2 separate regions of the Homo sapiens genome follow, and region 1 is linked to region 2. The links are contacts of gene promoters, found by promoter capture Hi-C in blood cells and fetal thymus (Javierre and others, 2016). All regions are on one chromosome and are shown on one strand. Each heading gives the region's core, a stretch centred on a gene start or on the middle of the fragment in contact. The rest is flanking DNA. Distances are from core to core; before and after follow the strand shown.

The links. Contacts are between HindIII fragments. The CHiCAGO score rates a contact against its expected background, and 5 or more counts as called.
Region 1: a fragment that was not itself captured here is called in contact with the fragment with the promoter of ALOX15 in region 2 in 1 of 17 cell types (naive CD8 T cells); the score reaches 6.9 in naive CD8 T cells.

What each region holds. Positions count from the first base shown.
Region 1 is chr17:4,450,801-4,454,394 of GRCh38, forward strand. It overlaps SPNS3 (SPNS lysolipid transporter 3, sphingosine-1-phosphate (putative)), which reads left to right. Exons shown (of 12, transcript NM_182538.5): 8 at 2,216-2,405. Among named protein-coding and RNA genes, the nearest start is that of SPNS3, 19 kb to the left of the region's middle. The HindIII fragment of the contact is 1,406 bases long and covers 1,156-2,561 here.
Region 2 is chr17:4,639,908-4,643,218 of GRCh38, forward strand. It overlaps ALOX15 (arachidonate 15-lipoxygenase), which reads right to left and starts at 1,771. Exons shown (of 14, transcript NM_001140.5): 1 at 1,610-1,771. The coding sequence starts at 1,744. The HindIII fragment of the contact is 20,783 bases long and covers 1-3,311 here.

The sequences.
Region 1 (3,594 bases), core at 609-3,108, 190 kb before region 2:
TTTCACCATGTTGGGCAGGCTGGTCTCGGACTCCTGACCTCGAATGACTGGCCCGCCTCAGCCTCCCGAAGTGCTGGAATTACAGGCGTGAGCCACCGTGCCCGGCCGAACTTACAGATCCTTAAGGGCTCTCTTGGCTGTAAGAGTCTGTGATGCTGGGAGGGCCCTGTGTGGATGGAGGGAACATGAAGGGCTTGGTAGCTGGGGCATGTCCTCTGGCTGCCCCTCCTGCTTAGGGGCTGGCGGGGGTGCATTTTCAGGCAGCCTGTCTAAATAATCAATCCTAAGTCTCATGAATATCTCGAGAACCTGCCAAGGTCAGCCCAGACCAGGACTCAGAGGCAGCTAGCATACATCCGGGATTTGGGTCATTTGACTGGGCTGAGCCAGACCTCGCACAGCTTGGAAGCCTGGGAAGGTTTAGAAAGCACTTCTTCTTCTTCTTCTTTGTTTTTTTTTTTTTTCCATTTGAGACAGAGTCTTGCTGTGTTGCTAGGCTGGAGTGCAGTAGCACGATCTCGGCTCACTGCAACCTCGGCCTCCCGGGTTCAAGCGATTCTCCTGCCTCAGCCTCCCAAGTAGCTGGGACTACAGGCGCACACCACCACGCCCAGCTAATTTTTGTACTTTTGGTAGAGAATTTAGAGAATTCTCAGTCATTTGTGCAAAGTGAGGGTGGGAGAAGAGAGGGCAAGCTACATCGGTCAGCGTGGACCAGTCCCGCAGAGTCATCAGTGCTGGTCAGGAGCTTGCTCAGAGGACGACAGGGAGCTATTGAGAGGTTGGAAAGATCCTGGTTGGACTGGTGTTTTCAAGAGTTCACAGTGGGCACAGTCTCAGCGTTCCCTTTGAGCTCCTTTATTTGTTTTGTTTTGTTTTGTTTTTGAGACGGAGTCTTGCTCTCTTGCCCAGGCTGGAGTGCAGTGGTGTGATCTCAGCTCACTGCAACCTCCACCTCCCGGATTCAAGTGATTCTCCTGCCTCAACCTCCTGAGTGGGCTGGGATTACAGGTGCCCACCACTGTTCCCAGCTAATTTTTGTATTTTTTTTTTTTTTTAGTAGAGACGGGGTTTTGCTGTATCGGCCAGGCTGGTCTTGAATTCCTGACCTCAAGTGATCCACCCACCTCGGCCTCCCAAAGTGCTGGGATTACAAGCTTAAGCCACCTTGCCTGGTCCCCTTTGAGCTCCTTTAAAAGGGGGCTGGAGGTTGCACAATGGACCAGGAGGGTGAAGAAGTATATTCAAATCCTGGTCTGTAATTTACCAGCTGGGTAATCTTGGCCTTGACTTTTCTCAGCCTCACCTTGCTCACCTATCCATCTGGGAATTGTTGCCCAAGCTGGAGTGCAGTGGTATGATCATAGCTCACTGTGGCCTCGAACTTCTGAGCTCAAGCGATCCTCCCGCCTCAGCCTCCTGAGTAGCTGGGACTACAGGTGCACGCCACCAAGGCTGGATGATTTAAAAATTTTTTGTAGAGACAAAATCTTTCTGATCTGGAACTCCTCCCACCACAGATCTCCTGCCACAAAATGCACTCCTGGGGAGCCTTTGTGGAGGTTATTTTGGAGGGACAGGTCTCCACAGGAAGGATGTACAAGGGGAAGCCAAGCAGAGTAGAAGTGGCTCTAAAAGTGGGTGGGAAAGGGACGGAAGTCAGGTAGGGGCTGCCTGAGAGGGGTTCAAAGACGGGGAGTGGAAGGATGGGATTCAAGGAGGGAGGGCGTGTAGAGAGCCCAGACAAGGGCCAGGTGTATCACAGGGGCTCAGTAAATACATGTTTGCTTCCCTCCATTCCTCTTAGTACTGGGAGCTGGAAAGAGAGAAGGTTGGGGCCAGGGTGGGACCCTGGAATTCAGATTTTGAGTGGGGCAGTTTTGGGGGGTGAAAGGGTAAGGGTCAATGGAGATGAGGCAGGCTGGGACCTGGGGTGCAGGGTGATCACCCACATGGCCAGTGGGATCCCCAGGATGAGACAGGAGATGAGGCAGGAAAGGGGGTAGGGGAGAGCAGTGGGACATTGGTCCCTGGGAGTATCAGTGAGGAGGGTGGGTAAGGTTCTGGGTCAGGTCAGGGGCCCACAGCCATATTCCCTGTAGACACCAGATCATGCACTTGAGCCGAGGGGCTAGACCTGGGGCTGGGAGCAGGATAAGAGTCCCTATGCTAAGCTCACCCAGCTGACCAACCCTTCTGTGCTCTTCCCCATCAGCCTGATTTTTGGGGCACTGACCATCATGACCGGCGTCATTGGGGTCATCTTGGGGGCAGAAGCTGCGAGGAGGTACAAGAAAGTCATTCCAGGAGCTGAGCCCCTCATCTGCGCCTCCAGCCTGCTTGCCACAGCCCCCTGCCTCTACCTGGCTCTCGTCCTGGCCCCGACCACCCTGCTGGCCTCCTATGTAAGTGAGAGCCTCTATGGAGGTGGGGACAGGGTTGGGGGGCGAGGAACTCCTGTTTCCACAGGCTCATGCTGCGCCCGGCCTTTATGTACAATTATGTTGATCACTCCTTCTGAGTAGAGCTTGTTATCCCCATTTTACAGATCAGTAAAGAGAAGCTTGGCTGGACGCGGTGGCTCATGTCTGTAATCCTAGCACTTTGGGAGGTCAAGGCCGGCCTGGCCAATATGGTGAAACCCTGTCTCTACTAAAAATACAAAAAATTAGCTGGGCATGGTGGCAGGCACCTATAATCCCAGCTGCTTGGGAGGCTGAGGCAGGAGAATCGCTTGAACGCGGGAGGTGGAGGTTGCAGTGAGCTGAGATTGCGCCACTGCACTCCAGCCTGGGCAATGGAGCAAGACTCCATCTTGGGGGAAAAAAACAGAGAGAGAAGCTTACCAGGAGTTCCACAGTGAAGAAGGGGCAGAACTGGGATTTGAGCCTGAGCTTTTCTGACTGTAAAAGGTGTCCTCTGAGCATTGGGTTAATGTGTTAATTTGAGAAAATAGGACTCATTTATTGCCAGGGCATATTGTGGGCCCAAGAAGAAATAGAGCAATTCTCCCCAGGTTACAGAGGAGGGAAGCAAGGCCCAGATTGGTTATGGCCAATGTGGACGCTGCTTTAAGGGCAATAATCATGGTAATATCAAGTGTTCCAAATCCACATCCCATCACACCCCTTCATGGGCCTCACACTCTGGCTGTGCCAGCCGTGTGGGCACACACACTTCCCAGACTTTGCACGCGTCCATTTCTTCCACCAAGAACACCAGTTCCTCTTTTGTGCATCCTGAAATCCTCCTTCTGCAAGACTCAACTCAAAGTCCGCTTCCTCCAAAAGCCTTCCCCTACCACTCTATCCTCACACCAGAATTCACGTTCCCACTTGGGCTCAGCACCTGTTTGGGTCCCATGAGGCACCAAGGTTTATGGGGCCTGTCCACAGACAGGGAGCCCAAAGGGCAGGACCAGAGCCAGAGGGTCCCTGTGTGCAGCCGTGTCCCTGGCTCCCCAAAGCCCCAGCCCTGCCTGTCCCCCAACATGGGAAAGGGCTACTGCTTCTGGGAAGATGACGCCAGCCCAGCCACAAGCAGAGGGGCTAGACCTCTCCTCCTTTCCCAGCTCCATGGCCCTGGGCCCTGTGG
Region 2 (3,311 bases), core at 521-3,020:
CGCTGCCGCGCCCTGGACGAGCGCGCTGTGGAGCCCGGACGCGCTGGTGGCAATTCCCGCTGTGCGACCCCCCACCCCACCCCGCCCGAGGCTGAGGACCTGCAGGGGCCCCACCGGCCTGGGGACAACCTTCCCGGAGACCTGGAGGCGGAGAGGGCTCAGCCAGGGAGAGTGACAGAAAGGGAAGGCAGGGGAAAGGCGCGCAGAAAGAGAGCGGCGGGGAAGGGAGGGCGAGCAGCATCTTGGAGCTGGAGCTCAGAGCCCAGGTGTGGGGGGTCAGCAGGTCCGGAGGCTCTCGAAGGTGGCGCCAGGGGCTTTGGATTTGGTCCCGAGAACAAGCGGGAGCCGTTCGAATGTGTTAAGCAGGGGGAGTGAATTAGGGAGAAATCATTCCGGCTTCAGAAGGGCTTGGAAGGTCTGCAGCAGAGGTGGCGAGGCCGCTGGAGGTTTGAAATGGCTTTTAAAATAGAGAAACCGGGAGGACCGACGACCGCTCCGGCGACCGCAGTTTCCAGGCACCAGAGCTGTGTGGAATGAGGGGCGCTCAGGAGCATCCCCTTAATTCCAAGGAGATCGAGTAGCGGGAACATTTATTGAGCCTTTACTGTGTGTCACCAACTGCCCACCATAGGGAGGAAAAAAGGGAGGAGGGAGCGCGCCTTTCCACCTTCCGTGCCCCGTCCCCTCACCATGGAGTCGCGGGGCCACCTGCTCCGTGCGCATTTTCTCTCTTCCTGGCTCCCTTTGCCCCGCTTTCTCGGAAGCTCGGAGCAAGGGCGTGGAGTGCGGGGAGCAGGGCTCCGCAGGTTCAAGAGGACGCGGGCGGTCGGGGGCGGGACGGATATTGGGCAGGGACGCGGGAGATGCTCAGGGTCTAGAACTGACTGCGCCGGATTCTTGTTTAGAGGGAGGTGAAGAGAGGAAGGAGGCGCGGGTGACACCGGGGGAGGCAGGAGGAGAGGGCTGGGAGGTGGGGAGAGGGGAGGACCTCATCCGGGCATGTTGCTTTGACGTTCCCTGAGACAGACATCCGGATTTGGGGATCTGGGAGAGAGCTAGAGCAGTGATGGGAATTTGGGCTTTCGCGGAAGAAAAAAAGTTAACAGGACCGGGTAGAACACCCGGTAGATGTGACATGAGATATGACGGGAGGTGGGTCGGGAAATCGAGAGCGTTCTCCTGTCTTGACTCCCCATCCCTTCCCTCTCACCACCCACTCCACCCCAGGTGATAAAGCCTGAAAGGTAGAGATCCAACAGCGCTAGCGGTTGAAACGGTTTTTAAAATAGAGAAAGCGAGAGGACCGACGGCGGCTCCAGTGACTGCTGAGTTTCCAGACAAGGGAGCTTTGTGCAATGAGGGGCGCACAGGAGCATGCCCTCAATTCCAAGGAGATCGGGTAGCGGCAACATTTATTGAGCGCTTACTGTGTGCCACCGACTGCCCTAAAGCCCCCCACCCCCGTGGCCTCCGCGCGCTTTGAGCCCAATGCGCGGGCCCTTGGCAAAGAGAATCGGCCAGAGGCCAACGGGGGCGCATGTCCTCCCCGGTATTTGACTGACTCGGAGCCAGGGGCGCAGCCCACCCCGCCCGGCTCTGGGGAGCTCACCTTGCCCCGTGCGGGCCACAGTCGCTTCCCGAGCGCCGCCTCCCCGTGCTGGCCGACCAGCCACAGCTGCACCTGGTTGTTGGAACCGGCATAGAGCGAGGCCCCAGTGGACACGCGGATGCGGTAGAGACCCATCTTGCTCAAAGATGTTTCGCTCCTTCTGGTGGAGAAGGGTGGACGAGCTAAATAACCCAGCCTGAGACCCCGCCCTCTCGGAGGTCGCTTGGGGTCGGAATGTGGGTGGCAGGTCTCCAATCAACTCCGCCTACCGCTGGGGCCCCCAGCTCCAAGGAGCAGAGCTTCAAGGGGCAGAATTCAGCCCCAGTCCAAAAGGCGGTGTCCTGGCGAGAGCAGGGAGTGGAAACCACTATCTTGACGGGAGGGAGAAAAAGAAAAGGATTTGGACCGAAAACACGCAGGAAGAGGGAATCAACGCCTGGTACAGCAGGCAGGCGAGGTGGGGGTAGGAGTTATGCACGTGTGTACCACGGACTTTGGGCCAAGCCTGGGTGGCTGGGAAGCCAACCTCCATCTAAACGCACGCGTGCACACACACACACACGCAAGGACACGCGCGCGCACACACAAGCCTCACAAGTTGGATTGCAGGAGAGGGTGAAGTGGGCGAGGAGACCCAGTTTGCAGTGGCATTTGAGGAAGGTACATTCAGGCCACGGAATTCATTCGACCAGCTTTGCACACTTGCCTTCTCTGTGCCAGCCACTGGGACTCATTCCTTTTGAGCATAAAAGCCGCTGCCTCCCTGTTGCCTGCAGAATAAAAGTCCAAATGTTTCTGGCATTCAATGCCCTTGCTAACCTGACCTGCTCTCCTCACCTCTCATCCCACTGCACCCTGGCATCTCCTGTGCTGGAGCCATGTGTTCCCCGGAACCCCCCCTCCCCCCGCCGCCCCTGCTGTTCTCTCAAAGAACTCACTTCTGGGTTAGTCTGGTCATGCTTCTAAACCCTAATTCGTCTCCAGTTTCTTTTTGGGCTGGAGCCATGTGTTCCCCAGAACCCCACCTGCTGTTCTCTCAAAAGAACTTGCTCCTGGATTAGTCTATTCATCTATTCATGCTTCTAAACCCTAGTTCACCTCCGGTTTCTCAGGAAAGTCTTACCCGGTACTTTCACCCCCCACCACCCCACCAGAGTGAATTAGCTTTCCTTTTTTTTTTTTTTTTGAGATATAGAGTCTCACTCTGTCACCCTGGAATGCAGGGTGGAGTGCAATGGCACGATCTCGGCTCACGGCAACCTCTGCCTCCCGGGCTCAAGCAATTCTCTGCCTCAGCCTTCCGAGTAGCTGGGATTACAGGCGCCTGCCACCATGCCTGGATAATTTTTGTATTTTTAGTAGAGACGGGGTTTCTCCATGTTGGCCACGCTGGTCTTGAACTCCTGACCTTGTGATCCACCCACCTCAGTCTCCCAAAGTGCTGGAATTACAGGTGTGAGCCACGGCGCCCGGCCCAGCTTTCCTTTCTAACACTTTTCTCCTTGCGCACACTTCTACTGTTGCACAGTTAATACTGCAGTGTGAGCATTTGTATGTGTGTATCCCCCACTAATGTGAGCCCGTCCTAGGCAGGGACTACACACCCAGCAGGACTCTCACTTTTGTTTCCCCTGGAGACGGCACAGTGTCAGGGTTTGTGGGTGTCAATAAGTGTTTGCTGAAACACACTGAGCTGAAAAAT